4 separate regions of the Homo sapiens genome follow, and all the other regions are linked to region 2. The links are contacts of gene promoters, found by promoter capture Hi-C in blood cells and fetal thymus (Javierre and others, 2016). All regions are on one chromosome and are shown on one strand. Each heading gives the region's core, a stretch centred on a gene start or on the middle of the fragment in contact. The rest is flanking DNA. Distances are from core to core; before and after follow the strand shown.

Region 1 (4,920 bases), core at 1,876-4,375, 430 kb after region 2:
TGCAAGTCATCCCTGAGGAAGTAGTGACCAGCTGTGGATGCTACGCTGAGGCCCTTCTTTAAGAGTGATCTGATGGCACTGGATGTCTGCTGAGGCTTGTGTCTAGAAGGAATGAAAGGATGTGCCAACAACAGCAGTTGTCTCCTCGTTTTCAAAGCTCAGGCCTCATGGTATCCCCTTCTCTTGGTTCTGTTTACTAAAACATATCAGTGCCTGACTATGCCTGAATGATCCATCTTCCTTAAGGCTGCTACACCATAACTAGGAGCTTTAAAAAAAAGGGGGGGGCATTTACTCTCTGAGGCACTCAAAAAAGCACATGCTTTTAATTGAGGGATGGGGGTGACAATGGATCATTCTGTTGATTTTAACTATCTCATATTTGTTAACAGCATCATTTCCATGGATAGCTTTCTGAAAGACTGCCTATCCACTTAGAGGTGAGGAGAAGTAATAGGGGAGGAAACCCTGCCGAGCTGCAAAAAGTTCTAAATCCAGTCCTTTAATTATCTTGCTTAAAATTCTTTATTGGCTCTTTGATACCCTCAGAATAAAGCAAACTGCTTAAACATGACTTACAAAGTAATTGCTATAGTTTGAATATTGTCCCCCAAATCACATGTTGAAATTGATTCCTAGTGTCAGAGGCGGGGACTGTGAGAGGTGTTGGGGTCATGGGGCATATCTCTCATGAATAGATTAATGCTCTGTCAGCATGGGGTGGGGTTGTGTGAGTTCTCACTCTTATTAGTTCCCAAAGAGTTGGTTATTCAAAAAGAGCCTGGCATCTCCCTCCTTTTTGTCTCTTGCCTCCTCTCTCACGTGTGATCTCTGTGCATGTGCCTTTCCGTTGCCTTCCCCATGAGTGGAAGTGGCCTGAAGCCAATGCTGGTGCCATGCTTCCTGTACAGTCTGCAGAACTATGAGCCAAATAAACCTATTTTCTTTATAAATTACTCAGCCTCAGATATTCCTTCATAGCAACACAAATAGAGTAAGACAGCCATTAATATCATGCCTATACCTGAGACAGTGGTATGCATTAAACATTACATCTGCCCCTACTTTTCTAGGTCATTATAATTTTGGGGGTGGGGTGGGAGAAGCATATGACTAGTGCTAACCAATAGGCTGTGGGTAGAAGTGATGTGTGTCACTTCTAGACTGAAGTATATAAAAGTCATTCAGATGTCTGTTCCCCTGCTGTGGTGATCAAGAAAGCCAGATGTTTCTATTGTTGCGGATATGAGATGTTGTCTCCATTACTCTAGATCCCTAAGCGTTTGTGTTCATTAGATGCTGCAGCTAAACTGAAATTCTTTCAGTTCCTTGGTCATGCTTACCTGTCATCCTTTGCAAATACTTTTCTCTTTCTAGATTGCTTTTCCATCTCTTCTTCAAGTGTCTCTTTTTCTTTTTTTTTTTTTTTTTCAAAAATCTGGTTTAATCTTCTACCTAGACCACTAAAACCTTTCTCCATATCAGCAATAAGGCTGTTTTTCTTTCTTGTTATTCATCCTTTTTCTTTTCTTTTTTTTTTTTTTTTTTTTTTGAGATGGAGTCTCTCTCTGTCGCCCAGGCTGGAGTGCAATGGCACGATCTCGGCTCACTGCGACCTCCACCTCCCGGGTTCAAGCGATTCTCCTGCCTCAGCCTCCTGAGTAGCTGGGACTAGAGGCGCACACCACCACGCCCTGATAATTTTTTGTATTTTTGGTAGAGATGGGGTTTCATCATGTTGGCCAGGCTGGTCTCAAACTCCTGACCTTAAGTGATCCTCCTGCCTCGGCTTCCCAAAGTGCTGGGATTACAGGTGTGAGCCACCGTGCCTGGCCCAAGTGTCTAACTCTTTTCTTCTCTTCTTGGTCAGAACATCACTTTCTCTGGGAAGCTTATTTTGATCTTCTAGGTTTACGTTAGGTGTTCTTTCTATAGAATTATCCTGCACTTATCACACCATGAGGTAATTAGTTTCCTGCTTCTTTATCCTTGCACTTCTTTGAAGGATTGAATGAACCAACTCCCCAGGGCTGAGTTTGGAGAGCTGGGGCAAAAGGTGGAGTGAGGGAGGCAGCATGGCAGCATCTGGAAAGCTGTGGAAAATTTGCCTTCAGGGCATGCAGTTGATGGTTACCAACCCCCATTCTATTGCCTGGTTGATTGTTAGACCTCTTACACCTTCTGGGTTGCTCTCTGCCTATTGGCTTGCCATAATTCATAAAGGATACGTTAGCGTCTATTGCCAAAGATTAAAAAAGCCAGCTGGTTTCAGAATACTAAGTGGCAAATGTTTACTATAAGTCAGATGAAGACAGGCTGTTCCCTTAGCAATATTTTGCTCTAAGTAAGAGGAAAATTAGTCTAAAATTAATTTAAGCTATAAATTATAATGTCAAAAAGAATCAGTGCATATCTATCTACTTCTTTTTGAGGTATCATTTGCACCTAAAGTAATTTTCTTAATATGGGAGCAGTCTGTTTAGATTAGAAAAGCACAAGCAAGGCACTTCAAATACTATATTTTTCTTTTGTTCTGCTTTGTTCTGGGTTTGGAAGCCTAGGAACACTCAGCTGAATTGTGTTTGGACAAGAATAGTGGCCACTTGTGAATGTAGACCATTGTTAAAATGCACTTTGTATGTTCTAGTAAAAGTTATTCACCCCAAAATCTTGTTTTAGCTAGCAAACTGACTCAATCTGAAAGTAGATGAGTTTTAAAAAGTCAAATAAAATACAATTTCCTATTTCCTTTTTTCATTTTAAGCCTATTCTCTGATGATTCCTTTCTCATATTTAAAATTCTACTGGGCTCAGGTAAGAGGCAGTCAGATAATTAAAAAAGAAGTTAAAGAGAAATGCAATAGGTGAATGTTTTCTAGAAGCTCAGAAAAGGCTGAGTGTATCCATTGCCATTTGTTTGAGTCTATTAGGGAGCTATAGTGCAGAATATTGAATCTGAGCATAGTGATTTTTCTAGATGTCAGCATCAGTAGACAGAGGGCTTGCTCTTCATCAAGGCAATCTTTACCCTTTGTAAGCTTGGCTCTGAATAAATAGAAAGTATTGATTAAGAAAAGTGAGGAAAGGGTATAATTTTGATGTTTCTTAGGTTTTAGATAGTACTCCTGGTGTTTATTATCTGCATTGCTCTCTGCTGTGAGCCCAGGGTGTTTCTTCAGAAACGTTCTGTGTTCTGCCCTTAATAAGCTTTTGGGTTAAGTAAAAAAGAAATAGAAAGCTTTTTCTCTGCCTTTGAAGAGTGTAGGAATGGTTAGAGAGACAAAACACAGAAAATGTAAGCGCAATTAGCAAGCATCGGGGGAACATGGGCAAAATAATCTGGTATGAAGTAAGGTCTGTGGAGTAAAGAATCATATATCGTGGAGAGAGCATAGCAGTGTGTTAGAACGGGTTTGGACTGCTTGGGTTTGATATCATTCAGTACTATTATATTTAATTTGTGACATTAAGAAAATTACTTAATCCCTAGGCAAAATAAAGATAATACAACATTCACTTCATTTGGTTCTAAGGACCAAACAAGATAATATGTAGAAAGTGATTATCATGATACCTACAACATAGTATATGCTCAAAAAACATTAGCAATTATTATCAATATCATAGGCAATATTTTTGATTAGGGAATTATCTCACTTAAAGGAAGTAATTTTCTACTCACTTCCTAACATGCTATCTTTCTCTCTTGTTTTTCTTATCTCATTTCCAAACTCAGCATTATCTTGACCCTTTAAAAAGTTTCTTAAAGTTGAGAAATAATAAAACCTATTATTAAAAATAATGTACCAGCCAAAGGCAAACTGCCTTAAATGCATTACTCTCTAATCTCTCCAACAACTAATAAAGTAGATGGTGAGTACAGACGAATATATACATATCCACATAAATAAGTGTTTTCATATTTTGCTTCATATATCAACCTAGGGAATCTGAATAAAAAATGTTTCCATTTATGATCCAGCTTTTCTTGCAATTTCAGTGCAAACTAGTAGTAATATTTGCCAAGAAAGATCATAATTGCTATATAATAATATAAATATAAATATATAGTAATAATAGCTAACACTTATACAATTGTTGTCAAGCACTCTTCTAATATATACATATATGTATGTGTAAGAATTAATTTAATACAATTACAGAAAGTCAAATTGATTATGAGGACCACCAATAATGTATTCTTTTGGCCACTCTATACTGCTTTTTATCAGCTCTGGATATATTTAACCCAATTTTAAAATTCTGGAATTCCTTAATTTCTAGAATTTGTATCTCTCAGTCAATGGTTAAAAAAGAAAATGATTAAAAAACAAAAACGGAATTAATTCTTGATAACATGTTTTCTTATTGCCCCGGAAAATCAACAATGACATCAATAACAATAGAGTCTTATAGCCTAAACAGAGTTCCCATGATAATTAGGAAACATTTGTGTCAAAATGTCAAACTGTCTTCCCAAGATCAGGTTTTCCTAACATGTTTATTATCAGCAACTTTTTTTTTTCTCTTTTCCAGTCACAATTTCCTTTTATTACAAGACTGTACTTGCACAGCAATATTTCCTTAAGCAAGAGATGGAGATGTTCAGGAGTAGCACATGTAATACCTGAGCTAGGTGTAGGTTTTGTTATCAGGGATACTGTGGAAGACAATAACGGAAAGGGGCCTCATGCCAAGGATGCAAGCAGCCTCTAGAAGCTGGGGAAGACAAGAAAAACCATTTTACTTTCCAGCCTCCCTGTGGATCCATTTTGAACTGACTTCCAAAACCATAAGACAACACTTTTGTCTTGTTTTAAGCCATTACATTTGTGTTAATTTGTTACAGTGGCAGTAGTAAACTAATGTTGATACTAAATGGGAGGATCATTGTTCAAATCTGGTCTTCAAATGTGTCTA
Region 2 (4,694 bases), core at 1,019-3,518:
TAGGTTCAAAGTTACCAAAAGAAAAAGCCCCTTGAAGTAAGTCACAACTAACGGTTTAGAGGAAGAACTTAACCTATCAAAACATGCTTGGATCTCTCTGCGTTGCCATTCAATAGAAATAGAATGTGAGCTGCCTATGTCATTTTGTTTTCTAGTAGCGACATTTTTCAAAGTTAAAAGAAACAGGTGAAATTTATTTTAGTAATATATTTTATTTAACCCAATGTTTAACGGATATGGGAATGTTATTAATAATATATTTTACATTCTTTGTTTCATACTGAGCCCTTCCCACACAGGCCTAACCACAATTCAAATGCTCAACAGCTGCAGGTACCACTAGACTAAGAAATGCTGAGCATTTGACAGATCCATTCCTATGGGTCATGGTTATCATCAGTCTTCATTATTATTCTCAAACTTCAAAAGTACTTATTTTTGATAGTAAAAATTATATCATGAAATTGCACTGATAATGTATTTCCATTAGCTGTTTAAATATCACACCATTGCCTTAATGAGTTACTCATAAATTGCCTTACATTTAGATTTCTGCATAAGCTTAATTCATTGTTAGATTTCTTGATATCAAAGTTCTTATTTTCATCCTTGACCAAAGTTTGGTCCTCCAGCTCTCTGTCTAATCTATGATTCACACTTCATCAACAGAATAATATTTCTAAAAAGCAACTTTGATCATTGCCCAACTACTTTAGGATAATAAAGAAAATATATAGTTCTTCATGATTTGACCACTGTCTATCTTGTTTCATTTCCTTCCACTCTCACTTTTCTTCTTCATTCTAAAATTTGCAGACTTCATAAGTTCCCTGAGTATGACATGCTGTTTTGGTCTTCACACCCTAGAACATGCTGTTTCTTCTGCCTGAAAGTTCTTATACCAGGCCTCAACTTTCAGTCCAGTTCAGCTGAATAAATGTATTGACTTCACACTAATCCCTTGAGTGACTAGTGCTTTTTTATCTTTGTGTCACCAGCATCTAGCACAGGTTCTGACAGTAAAATACCATATATATGAGATACGTATTTGTCAATCTAGCCTAAATGTAACCTTTAGGTAGACTCAGTTGTAAATTATTAACAGGAAGAAATATTAAAAGCAAAAGATAGTCATTCCTTTTCTATTTTAGTATTAAATTTAACTGAATTCTATTTTCATAGTTTTTAATGCCAACATTGAATGATGGTCAGTATTTTTATTCTGTTTCAACTCCAGTACATTTCATTTCCCTCAATCACCCTCCCCATAGTACTACTGAAAGTGATATACCTGAGAGTGTTATTATCTCAGGGACACAAATTATAAAGTTTTCATTAGATTAAAAAATAAGTATAAGAAGCAATATGTCTCAAAAGTCCCTACTTCACATTCTGGTGAGTTTTGAGAAAATTACATTTAACCTATGCCACACATCCCAGGGAATAAACTGATAAGATTTTAATAAAATATCAAAACAAAGTATTCAGCTTCACACAAATATCTTAGTTTAATAGTCATAATAAACTGATAAGATTTTAATAAAATATCAAAACAAAGTATTCAGTTTATTCACACAAATATCTTAGTTTAATAGTCATATAAAACAAAGATATACAAGCCTTTGATAATAAGCATCATTTTTCCTAAATTATTTGCTGTATACACAATTATAAACAGACATAAGAAGCTCTTTTAAGTGTTACATACCAGAGTGAGTATATTTCTTAAGGCTTGTAAAAATTCTAATTTTACAGCTTCCCTGGAGTTCCAACATCTCTTGAGAAGGAAACAACATAAGCTCTTATTTCCTCAACCGAGCTGTCCCCAACCAATAAAAATAGATCCTAGGAACATCCCTTAATCTGGTGACATCATCCATAAAAGACAGGAATGGGGTGTCAAAATCCCCTTTCTATTTTCTGTTGTCCTCTTTGGGTAAGGAGATTTAAAAAACCAGTGGAGACTTATGAAGGAAACAGTACAATGAAAGAGAAGAGTTCGATACAAGAAGCAACCCTCAGTTAAATTCTATTTTGTTCACACTGGCCCTTGAACTTCATCTAATTTTACCATTTCCTGTTTTTAATAAATCTCCCTACACTTTCACACCAATTGAATTCCATGTTTTTATTACTTAAGAAGCATCTCAGCAAAGAAATAATGAACATTTCTTTTAGACAATTATTTTTACTTAAAGAAAAGCTCTGGTCACTCACCAATGATGATAGAAAACTGACCGATTTCCTTCCTATTTCTTGACTTTCCTAGCCCTGACCTGGGGCTTTGGCTCAGATAAAGGTGCAGGATTAGAAAAGCACAGTTTGTTCAAAGGTGTGAGCTCCTCTCTAAGTCATATCCAGGTTTTGGATGCCAAATCATGTTTACGAGGCACCTGAGTAAATACTTTGTTTGGCTGCCAGTAATCTTTTCTATTTCTAAAATTAAGTTTCAAAATATAGGGGTTTGCTTTTTAAGTAAATTATCCATTATGTAGAAAGAGTATGCTAGTGAAAGGATTATATAGAAGATCTCAAAACACTGCATTTCCTTTGTTCTGGTTTTGAAATTTCCTGTTGAGTCACTTAGTTGCTCAATGCTGAAGGGCACTAAAGTATAATTAATGTAATAGTAAACAGACTATCTGGCCAGATGCATCAGCAAAACGTAACCCTCACTTTACAAATACATGTACAGGTTTATTTTAACTGTTTGGTTTGGGTTTTTTCACAGCTATTAATATTACTCAGCCAAGGTTCAGTGGCACAGATGCCTTTGGATACACCTCATTCCTGGCTTATTCACGGATCTCAGACATCAGCTTCCATTATGAATTCCACCTGAAGTTTCAGCTGGCAAACAACCACTCAGCACTGCAAAATAACTTGATATTTTTTACTGGACAGAAAGGCCATGGTAAGATTAACTGAACCCTCTAGGACTTGCCTCGCTCCTTTAAGAATACTTTAGAGATTCCTCAGGGACACTCTAATTGGCTGTGGTAAAAAAAAGACCTTTGCCTAGATGCAGCCTCCTCCTGTTTTCTGCCTTGAGCATGTTCGCTGTAGTCCAAAGTACTTAGCAGTTCCCTGATCCTTTCTGAAGCTCTACTTTGCATCAGGGCTACTGTATTAGTCAGTTTTCATGCTGCTGTAAAGAACTGCCAGAGACTGGGTAATTTACAAAGGAAAGAAGTTTAATTGACTCACTGTTCAGCATGGCTGGGGAGGCCTCCGGAAATTTACAAGCATGGTGGAAGGGGAAGAGGAAGCAGAGTACTTTCTTCACAAGGCAGCAGGAAGACGTGCCTAGTAAAGGGGAGAATTTCTCCTTATAAAACCATCAGATCTCCTGAGAACTCACTCACTATCACGAGAACGCATGAGGAAAACCACCCCCATGATTTAATTACCTCCACCTGGTCTCTCCCTTGACACCTGGGGATTATGGGGATTACAATTCAAGATGAGGTTTGCGTGGGAACACAAAACCTAACCATATCAGCTACCTTTCATAATCAAAAGAAAAAATTCCTACAGGCAAACATGAGGACAGGGAAGGTGACCAAGTCACATGGGAAGTAAGTTTATTGATTTGTCCTTTCCTCTGTTTCTTTCTGTTTCCATGTCTGAAGAGAGAAGGGAAATTCTCATTTTTCCATGTGTTATAAAATGGAAATGGTTGTTGCCCTCAAAGAAAACCATTCTAAATTAAAGGAGCAAGAAATTAAGAAAGTACTCAGCCTGTAACAAAGTACTCTAGTGCCCTGGAATTGGTGGGAAATCAACTTATAACTTACATTTGTCTCTCTTAAGTAGAAACTAGTTATGCATGTGCTAAGTCAAGGAAAATTACCTATGTTTTACTTTTAAGTCTGCAATCAACAGTTAAGCAATTAATCACCTAACTTCTCTGAGTTCAGTGTTTTCATCTGTGAGATCAACATATTGTAACAGAAAAAGACCTTTCTCTCAGCTGTCAGTGGTTCTACGGTGCTAGGGTAAATAACATATTCTGTTTTTTTCAACTCAATCAGTGACTGTCTCTTAATACCAAACACTCTTTTCTGTATCAGCATATGTCTGAAAGGAGCCTACACCCCAAATGAAATGTGGTATTTCAGACTCCCACCATGTCTGCTAGGATGGGGTACTCTATCATGTAAAGTACTATTCATTCTACCTCCAAAATTTGTTTGAATCTCTTCCCCATCCCTATGCTGAAACCTCATGACCTCTTCCTGACTGGTCTCCCTACTGATTTCCTGCCTGCAATTAATTATCCACATTGTAATAAGAGTTAGCCTCTTAAAAGGTTTATTAGATCATGTCTGAACCTTGTTTAAAACCCATCTGTGGCTTTTTACTGCACTTAGAATGCAATCCAAACCTCCTTATCATGTTCTCAAAGGGCCTTCAGGATCAGATCCCAGTCTGCATCTCTGAACACAACCAGGCCACTCTCACTATCTCTGTGCTTTTCTCCTACAGCTCTTCTTCCAGTGCCTTAACCACCAAGTGCTTTCCTGTCTCAGAGGTTTGGTGCATGCTTTTTCCTCAGCCTTGACAGGAAATAGCTATCATAGTGGTCAAGGGAGCAGGCTCTAGAGACTGGTGATGTAGACATGAATCAGTCTCCACCATGTGCAAATTATGTGTCAAGTTACTTAATGTCTTTGTGCCTCTATTTTCTAACC
Region 3 (4,659 bases), core at 319-2,818, 480 kb after region 2:
GACTCAAAAGGGTGGAGTGGGATGAGTGATGAGAAATTACTTAACAGGTACAATGTATACTATTCCGGTGATGGCTACACTAAAAGCCAAGACTTCACCACTATGCACTATATTCATGTAACAAAACTGCACCTGGACTCCATAAATCTTACAAATAAAAAGAAATGTATTCTGTGGCACTCTCCTTCTAAAAATAGCTTGGGCTGTTTTGGAATAATTTTTAACTTATTATATGTGATTGCAAGCTCCTTATGTGCCTTGGAATTCAGAATTTCATGCTTCCACTTTCACAACTGACTTCATTTAACTTTATGAAGCTTGTGCTAAATATATAAATGCTTAAGGATATGTGAAAATCATTGAAAATGCTAAATTAAAATGATTTTAAACTAGTTTTAAATTGTATCAACTTTACAAAATAATTTTTTTCAGGGAGTTACGCTGTTTTCTACTCATTGCTTACTTAGGTTTATCGAAGGGGCAGATGAGAGGAGAAATTCCCTTTCTGAAACAAATGAAAAGGACACACAAAAATATTCTTCAGTTTCCCTGCCAATGTGTGTTTCCGCTCAGCCCTGAATTCACTGATTTTCTACCTGTCCTCACTCCAATATTTTTTAATCATCGGTTTTAAATCTTAATTCTGTAAACAGATCTACCATTTTCTTAGAAAATGAGGTATTTCTGGGAAGAACTGAAAAGAAATGGGGACTGGATTCATGAAAGGAACTTTTGGGGGCCTTTGTGAACAGGAGTTCTAGAACCACTAGGGAAGCTCAAATATTACTCCTTATAATTTTTGTATGATGTTATCTTCAATAAAGGGTGTCAATGTAGTCTTCCTGTTAGGTATGTCATAATTAGATGCATATAAAGGAGGAACAAACCCATGCAGCTTCTAGAACAACAACAAATCGGGAGAAAGGTAGGGTGGAAGTATCCTTCTGTCGTGGTTGTTATGTTCTTATGCTGACCTGAAACCATATTTTTGTGATTCATGAAGGTCATAAGAAAGATTATTTCCTTCACTGAACTTGGCTATTATTCTCACAAGTCAGTTATTCCCTTGGTCTCATTGGGCATGTTTTCACCCTATTTCCTTATCAGTTAGTGCTGGGAAGACAAGAACTTTGTATTTTATACACTGTACTGTAACATATAATATATGTAAACATGAAACAAAAACAGATTCATTGTGATTTCATTTTCTCCCACAGTGAAAGAATAGATTTAATCCTTTACCTAATTTGCATCCTTTGCTCTTCCAATCCTGTTCAATAATTCATCAGAAGGCAGTAACTTAGTGGTAAACAACATATTGTTTCCCCTTGTTGGTACTTAGTAAGCTTTAGCTTCTGCAATCTGTTCTCATGAAATGAATCCCATAATTCCTTTAATCATTTTAGTTACTCTTCTCTGGATCCATTCAATTAGATTACAACTTTTTGGCAGGAGAAGTACTTGAGTTGAACGGTCTTTCCATATGTTGTCTCAGAAGAGTGGTAAGAGAAAGACTTGTATCATTTACATTCATGGCTCAATGACTATATTCATTTTGACTAAGATAGCTTTCTGGATATAGTACAGATTGAACAAATGCTTGTGAATGAAAGTGTTTAATATGGACTTATTGACCATTTATTATTTTTCTAATCTATTTGTTAAGCCCTTTACTGACATTTGGTTTTTCCTTTGGAAAAACTGATTCTAAATAATGGTAATACTTTTAAAATATGTATCATGCTAATACCATAAATTAGGTTATACACCATATGTCCAACCAAGCTTTAGAACACTTTTTACAAAAATGGGCAAATCAAGGTTCAGGAAAGGATATTATAAAAAAATCATGGATACACATTGAGAAGAAGAGATTGTCAAAATAAGGTAAGGAAAAGAAGATGAAATGAATCAAATTGCATATTCAATAACAATAAAACTCCCAGGAGAAAATTTGGGTAAGTAGTACTATAAAGGAATGATTTTTTTAAAACATGTCCCAATATGTAACTGAACATGTAAACCAGCTTGGAGTTCTTTTCTTTGATATAGGAAAGGGAACATTTCTGAAACAAAAACGAAATTTTTCACAAAACATTTTTTTCCATAGCTCAATGGCACCTGTTTTGCATGGAGACAAGCACATGCAAGAAAAAGTTGTAAAAGTGGAAGCAAATGTGGTCTCAGAAGAGGATTGAGAAAAACTTAGGTAAGGCTCTGGTACAAGACATTGTGGGAATTAAACACCCTACTAGAGATCTGGGGGAAAGCACCAAGAGCAAGTCAAATACTAGGATAGGAGATAGAATCCCTTTTCTTGGGGAGGTTCAAGAGTCCAAAACAGCCATATTCAGGATGCAGTTTCAGGCTGGCATCAGCATCAGAACTAGGTCCAAATTCAAGATCTGGTTGTAGATCAGGCTACACAGAGCAGAAGCTTTAGAGTCAGTCATGGAACAAGTACCAATGGAATGGAAATAGGAATAGTTAATCACTGTCTTTAGGAAATGGGGCTTTTGAAATGGGCCAAGAGAGTCAGGCAGGATTGAGTGGTTGTAAGTATTGGCTTGGTCTTCCTCAGGCCCAGAAGACCAGGAAGAAGTGATTAGCCATGGAGACTATACACTTCCACATGGAAAATGCTTAGAGAGAATTTGGTTTGGTTCAGAAGAAACTGCATATCCTCCTTCATCAACAATACTTGAAGTTGAGTTGATAGCAGCAGAAGTGTGATTTCAAACCCCCTTTACTAGTGAAGAGAAAGCATTCCCTATTTCCTCTACTGAGTTAGGATTGTTTATGGGACCATATGGGGCAGCCTGTAGATGATTCTGTGTTCATTGTGCACAGTGGGGATGGTCTGGGATTTGTCACAGACTGACATCGGAGAATTGGAAAAGCTAAAGAAAGATATTTCAGTTTTATAATGAAGGTCCAGAATTAATTTGGAGGCCAGAGGGACCTAGAAAAGAAAATAAAAATGAGAATTACAAATGAGTGGATCTTTGCCATTGGTAAAAATCTGGGTCACTTATAGCTGTATTTTTCCATCTGTGCTTTTGTCTGTGGGCTTTGATAGCATAGTCGTCTAATAAGTGTTTCATCATCTGAATCTGACAATAGATATCATTCCAGAATACAATTGTTATGTAACAAAAATTCTGTATGTTGGAGAAAAAAATCAACCAACACAATTTTAAGCTTTGTATGTCTTTTGTTTGCAGGGAGTCAGGCGTAAACAAGCATTTGTCATTCGATTCTTCTAGTGCATTTCCAGCATACTGTGCCTTGGGCATGACACATCAGAATCTGATGTTTATCTTTTATTACCTGCCAGACCCCTCTGGAAAAGCCTCTATGGAATTCATCATCTGCAGTCTTTGTTGTAGGTACACATATAAATACATGTTGAATGCATTTGTTGAGGATATTGTGGTTTCTAACGCTGAACTTAAAAAGTGTTGAGATGAATAATGAAGAGGACCTTCTGCAGGAGGTATGAAGCTAATCATTAAAATGTTTTTAACCAAAATATTGACAGTAAATCTTTTTAAAAAATGTCAATTATTTGAATGCCAGTAAGAATAAGGGCAGCATAATTATACTTGTTATATGTCCACTCAGGAGAAGTTTATGAAGAATTGCCCTTCTGTACTACACAGTGAATTTATAAAGATAATAAAAACTAAACAATTCAAAATATTCATCTAGGAAAGCTCATTTGGTTTGAATAATCATTTAAGTTCAATAGGCACTGAGTTTCAGAAGCATAAGTATGCTATAAAAAAATTTATTTCTATTTTGGTTGTTATTGAGAGAATAATCTTTGTTTTTCTCAAAGCTTTGGCCTCTTTCTAATAAATATGCTTTGAGATTAAATGACTAAAGGTGGAAACCTGTTTTCAAATTATATTTGAAATGCACAGCATGAATAATGATAGCCACTTATAGGGTCTAGCATATATTAAAATAATCAGTTGTCAACATATAACATTTCTCCTCACTTCTTAATGTGTGTGTACCCAACCTTCACTCTTGTATTTCTGACTGACCATTCTGAAAGACTGAAGTGCAGACTTGGAGGCAAGCTGTGGTAAAATTTGGGAGGATGTGAGTTATCTTTAGTAGGTTAAGAAAATATAATGCAAGAAGCATACCTACTATGTGAAGAGTGCAGTGGAAGACCAGTGCATTATGTATGAAATAGTGGCATATAGAGAACAAACCTGGTCCCCACTTTTGCATGTAGTGGAGAAGATAGCTAACATCTAAGAATGGGTTCACTGATCTGTATAGTGAATACAAGCAGTTGTTTTGAAATAGAGTCAAGAACAAATGCACTTTCCCTAAGGGAAACTGGGCAAGGCTATGTGAAGAAGGCACTCCCTGAGGAGGAGCTGTGGCTTATCCTGTACTGTCATGTCACTGTTGTAGGCATCAAATGGTGGACATGTTTATGTGATTATAATGAATTTAGCTAAAAGTAAATTCATAGCTGCAAAGGAAGGCTTATAGAAAGAAAGTAAAGGTAATTAGCATATACATCATTAGCTTTTTGGGATTTTGATTTCTAACTATGTAACTTCTTGGACTAGTTTTACTTACTACTTCTGATCCCATGGCAGAACTCTGCTTTCTTCCCCAGCTCCCACAATTTTA
Region 4 (5,182 bases), core at 2,142-4,641, 390 kb after region 2:
TGGTGTGTTGTGGGGTGGGGGTATGGGTGTGATGAGCCTGGTTTTGTGAATGTTAGAAAAATTGCACACAAGATTCAGCTGCAGCCATGGAAAGGAATTGCTGCAGCTGGGGGGAAGAAGTATTAATAGGATGATTCTCATAGGAATGGGAAACAGACAAGAAGAAGTATGTCTTTTCTTCCTCCAGCCTGTAGTCTCTCTTCAGTGCCTTCAAGGGTCAGGTGGCAAAGCAGAACTGTGGTTTGTAGGGTGCCAGGTGCAGCATCACAAAACAGGTTAAAGAAGAGGGATTTCCATGTTGTTTCACATCTGTTTTTGATAAGGACTGTGTATTTTATTTCTTTTCTGTAAGTTCGACTTTCGTTAAATGTGTGTGTGTGTGTGTGTGTGTGTGTACATACATATGTATGTACATACACTTTTAAAGTGTATATATATATTTCTTTTAAATATCTACTTAGGCCAGGTGCGGTGGCTCATGCCTGCAATCCCAGCACTTTGGGAGGCCGAGGTGGGCAGATCACTTGAGGTCAGGAATTCAAGACCAGCTTGGCCAACATGGTGAAACCCCGTCTCTACTAAAAATACAAAAATTAGCCGGGCGTGGTGGTGGATGCCTGTAATCCCAGCTGTTTGGGAGGCTGGGGTAGGAGAATTGCTGAGGTGGAGGTTGCAGTGAGCCAAGACTGCGTCATTGCACTCCAGCCAGGGCAACAGGAATGAAACTCCGTCTCAAAAAAAACAAAAACAACAACAACAAAAAAACTATGTATTTTATAAATTGTGTGTACAAAATACATAAACCACTCTATTTATGAGCAGATTCAGTTTATTTTAACCCATATTCAGCTACTCTAAGAATTTTAAATTTCATTTATTAGTGGCAGCCTGTAGGGAGTAAGGAGTGCAAAGAAAGACTGAGTTACTTGAGGGAGGATGTGATACAGGATATCAAAGATATATCTATATATTCATTATTTCTCAGTTTGGCCCTCAATGCCATCTGATGTTTCCTTGGACCATTAACTGCTCACTTCTATAGGGAATGCTTAATTCAAACATGTATGCCCGTGTTGGCAGAAGATTCTTTGTCTTAGGAGCATTTGAGACAGTAGCAATGAATCGTGCTGCCTCTAAGTAATTTTTTTTTCAGAGATGAGCCATGGAGCCAACCATTAGCTGAATATTCTGAAAAAAAAAAAGCAAAAAAAAAAGCATCTCCCTTGGAAATGGAAGGGAAAGATGAAATCTGAGATAAAGATGAAATAATCTAGGTTTATGAGCTGTCTTCTCTTCTCAATGGTCAGGAAAACAGGGAATAAGGACCTTTTGCTTCATTTTGGATGTTTTATTTTATTTAATCTATTAGATCAATGAATGGCCTCCTCCCAATGCATGCATTCTCCATGTATTTGATGGTATTAGATGTAAGAATAATAAATGCCCGGGTGAATCTAAAGAGAGTTCACATAACGCTACCTACTCAACATCTATGGGAGTACCGAATGAAAATGTGCAAAGTAAAATGCATCAACAATTTAGAACTTCATGAAGTAGCAAAGCATAATGATTGGAGAAGCTCTTTTGACTTTTAGGCAGTGGAAGTCGCTCTAGCTATCTCAAGAAATGAGGGTTGATATGGTTAGGCTTTCTGTCCCCACTCAAACCTCACCTTGAATTATAGTCCTCATAATCCCCATAATTCCCACGAGTCAAGGGAGAGACCAGGTAGAAATAATTGGATCATGAGGGCGCTTTCGCCCATGCCATTCTCATGATAGTGAGTTCTTATAAGATTTGATGGTTTTGTCAGGGGCTCTTTCCCCTTCCCTCGGCACTTCTCCTTTCTGCTGCCTTGTGAAGAAGGTGCCTTGCTTCCCCTTTGCCTTCCACTATAATTGTAAGTTTCCTAAGGCCTCTCCAGCCATGCTGAACTGTGAGTCAATTAAACTTTTTTCCTTTATAAATTACCCAGTCTTGGGCAGTTATTTTTATTTTTTATTTTTTGAAATGGAGTCTCCCTCTGTTTCCCAGGCTGAAGTACAGTGTCTCAATCTCAGCTCACCGCAAACTCCGCCTCAAGGGTTCAAGAGATTCTCCTACCTCAGCCTCCTGAGTAGCTGGGATTACAGGTGCATACTAGCATGCCTGGTTGTATTTTTATTACAGACAGGGTTTCAGGGTTTCTCCATGTTGCTCAGGCTGATCTCGAACTCCTGACCTCCTAGGTGATCCACCTGCCTCAGCCTCCCAAAGTGTTGGAATTACAGGCGCGTCCCACTGTGCCCTGTGGGCAGTTCTTTATAGCAGTATGAAAATGAACTAATTGAGGGGGATATTTTATTTTATTCTTTATTTTAAAAAGTCTCCATTTTTAAATTTTTAAAGTTTTCATTTTTAATTTAATTTTTTTTAAAGGGCGTCTGGCTCTGTTGCCCAAGCTGGAGTGTAGTGGCATAACCTTGGCTCACTGCAACCTCTGCCTCCCAGGCTCAAGCAATCCTTCCACCTCAGCCTCCTGAGTAGCTGGGACTACAGGCCCACACCACCACACAAGGCTAATTTTTGTATATTTTGTAGAAATGGGATTTGGCCATGTTGCCCAGGCTGGTCTTGAATTCCTGAGCTCAAGTGAACTGCCTCTGAAAGTGTTGGGATTACAGGCACGCGCCATCGCGCCCAGCACATTTTCTATTTTTTTAAAGCTTTATTAAGGTATAATTGATATATAAAAAGCTGCACATATTTAATATGTACAATTTTATTAGTTTGTGCATATGCAAACACTGGTAATAGCATTACCATAATCAAGGTAATAGACATAATCAACACCTCCTAAAGTTTCATTGTGTCCCTTTGGGTTTTTTTCTAAAGAATACATATCTACTCTCTTAAGAATTTTGAAGACTACAATATTATATACATTATGATGTATAGCACTTTTTCATCTAACAAAACTGAAACTTTATACTTATTGAACGACAGGTTCTCAAGGAAATGGGGGGATATTTTACAGATGTATGTGACAACAAAAATATCAAGGATCTCATAGGATTTCTTGAAAGAATAAAGACTAATATTTTTTTTTTGGCACCTCAGGTGCATCAGGCCCTGTGCCACATAGTTTATACCCAGCAGCCCATTTAGCTCTCCTGAAACAAAACAAAACAAAACAAAATTAAGACAGTATTATTATCTTCATGTCTTGAGGCTAAGATGTTGTGACTTGATCATAGTTATGAAGCAGAACATGGGAGAGGAAGTACAGTGTTTGTGATTCCAGTGGCCACTCTTCTCGACTGGCCCCCTATTAATTACAAGCCTTTAATAACAGCCACCAATACTGAATATATTGGTGAATATAATAATGAATCCTCTTGCCTCTAATATTCAAGATAGCCATGGTGATTTAGTTGAATATAAATGAATTATATATATACACATGAAAGCTAGTATATATTCTAACAATAATTACTAACTTTAAAGGATAATCGGAACTCTATTCTGTTTGCACTTACTATCTTATCCTATTAAGGCAAAATCATTTCAGATTATTAAATATGACATTAATGTAGAAATAATTTTATGGCATTTTACCTTTATATGAAGTAACTCAATTATTTGTAAAAAGAGGGATAATCATGTCACAACCTTTGTGCAATACATATAGTGGGTGGAAAATGACATTTTAGTTTTAATTAGGATAATTTGAGATTCCTGCTGAGAAGTTTGCCTAAGGTCACAGAACTACTCAGAGCTAGAAATACAGCACAGGAATCTCTATTTCTAGCCCAATGATCCACTTAGTTAAAACAGGGCTTATGCTATTCATAAAGCAATGTCATCAGTCACAAATCTGTTAAGTAAGAGAGGAGTAAAAATTAGATATTAGGAGAAACAACCATTTATGTAATAAATGTCAGCCAATCTTTCTTTTTAAATTAATTTCATAATATTGTGTATCCATTTCTTAGAAGAAAAGTTTTATAAATTTAGGAAAAGAATATAACTATTCTTGATTATCAGTTTCCTTGGTTGAAATGAAATTGCATTTAGAGTTCATTTTGTAAAGCTTCAATGGTGTCTCTAAAATTACATGTCAAATAATAATAGATTATTATTAATTATACAGATCTCCATGATAATCCATAACCTCTGTAATGTATGGTGTTGCTTTACATTTTATTAATATGAGTGTTCAACACTGGTAGTTTAATTCAGAAACTGTTTTTACTTTTTCAGGATTTGTATAATGGTTTATAGGGATTATGATACCCCATGTATTGTTCTCACCTTATTGACTTATTTTAGCACATGATTTTATGATCAATTTCTTCTTTCTAACTTGCCCTCATTTCTTTTCTTTTCTCTTTCTTTCCTTCTCTCTTCCTTTCTTCCTTCCTTCCTTTCTTCCTTCCTTTCTCTCTCTCTCTTTCTCTCCCTCTTTCTTTCTCTTTCTCTTACTCTCTCTCTCCCTTCCTTCCTTTCTTCCTTCCTTTCCTTTCCTTCCTTTCCTTCCTTCCTTCTTTCCTTTCTTTCCTTCCTTCCCTTCCTTCCTTTCTTTCTTTCTTTCTTTCTTTCTTTCTTTCTTTCTTTCTTTCTTTCTTTCCTTCCTTCCCTCTTTCTTTCTTTCTTTCTCTTTCTTTCTTTCTTCCTTTCCTTCCTTTCCTTCCCTTCCTTCCCTTCCTTCCCTTTCTTTCCCTTCTTTCCCTTTCCCTTTCTTTCCCTCTTTCTTTGCCTCTTTCTTTCCTTCCTTCCTTTCTTTCTTTCTTTCTTTCTTTCTTTCTTTCTTTCTTTCCTTCTTTCTTTCTTTCTTTCTTTCTTTCTTTCTTTCTTTCTTTCTTCTCTTTCTTCTCTCTCTTTTTCTTTCTTTCTTTCTTTCTTGCTTTCTTTCTTTCTTTCTTTCTTTCTTCTTTCTTTCTTTCTTTCCTTCTTTCATCTCTCTTTCTTTCTTTCCTTTCTTGATGGAGTCTTGCTCTGTTGCCCAGGCCAGAGTGCAGTGGGGCGATCTCAGTTCACTGCAACCTCCGCCTCCTGGGTTCAAGTGATTCTCCTGCCTCAGCTGCCTGAGTAGCTGGGATTACAGGCTTCTGCCACCATGTCCGGCTCATTTTTGTATTTTTAGAAGACACAGGGTTTTGCCGTGTTGGCCAGGCTGGTCTCGAACTCCTGACCTCAAGTG

What was found. The method cuts DNA at HindIII sites, captures the fragments that hold promoters and counts their contacts. A CHiCAGO score of 5 or more calls a contact.
Region 1: a contact is called between a fragment that was not itself captured here and the fragment with the promoter of SCAT8 in region 2, in 5 of 17 cell types (M1 macrophages, M2 macrophages, endothelial precursors and 2 more). The highest score is 6.4, in M1 macrophages.
Region 3: a contact is called between a fragment that was not itself captured here and the fragment with the promoter of SCAT8 in region 2, in 6 of 17 cell types (M0 macrophages, M2 macrophages, M1 macrophages and 3 more). The highest score is 10.5, in M0 macrophages.
Region 4: a contact is called between a fragment that was not itself captured here and the fragment with the promoter of SCAT8 in region 2, in 1 of 17 cell types (monocytes). The highest score is 7.0, in monocytes.

The regions. Positions count from the first base shown.
Region 1 is chr6:63,374,546-63,379,465 of GRCh38, reverse strand. It overlaps a transcript of LGSN not described here. Among named protein-coding and RNA genes, the nearest start is that of LGSN, 57 kb to the right of the region's middle. The HindIII fragment of the contact is 169 bases long and covers 3,041-3,209 here.
Region 2 is chr6:63,804,410-63,809,103 of GRCh38, reverse strand. It overlaps SCAT8 (S-phase cancer associated transcript 8), which reads right to left and starts at 2,268. Exons shown (of 2, transcript NR_157848.1): 1 at 2,218-2,268. It overlaps EYS (eyes shut homolog), which reads left to right. Exons shown (of 43, transcript NM_001142800.2): 37 at 2,732-2,914. The HindIII fragment of the contact is 5,141 bases long and covers 564-4,694 here.
Region 3 is chr6:63,318,751-63,323,409 of GRCh38, reverse strand. LGSN (lengsin, lens protein with glutamine synthetase domain) reads left to right here and starts at 3,427. Exons shown (of 4, transcript NM_016571.3): 1 at 3,427-3,496. The coding sequence starts at 3,467. The HindIII fragment of the contact is 439 bases long and covers 1,349-1,787 here.
Region 4 is chr6:63,412,146-63,417,327 of GRCh38, reverse strand. It overlaps a transcript of LGSN not described here. Among named protein-coding and RNA genes, the nearest start is that of LGSN, 95 kb to the right of the region's middle. The HindIII fragment of the contact is 1,367 bases long and covers 2,708-4,074 here.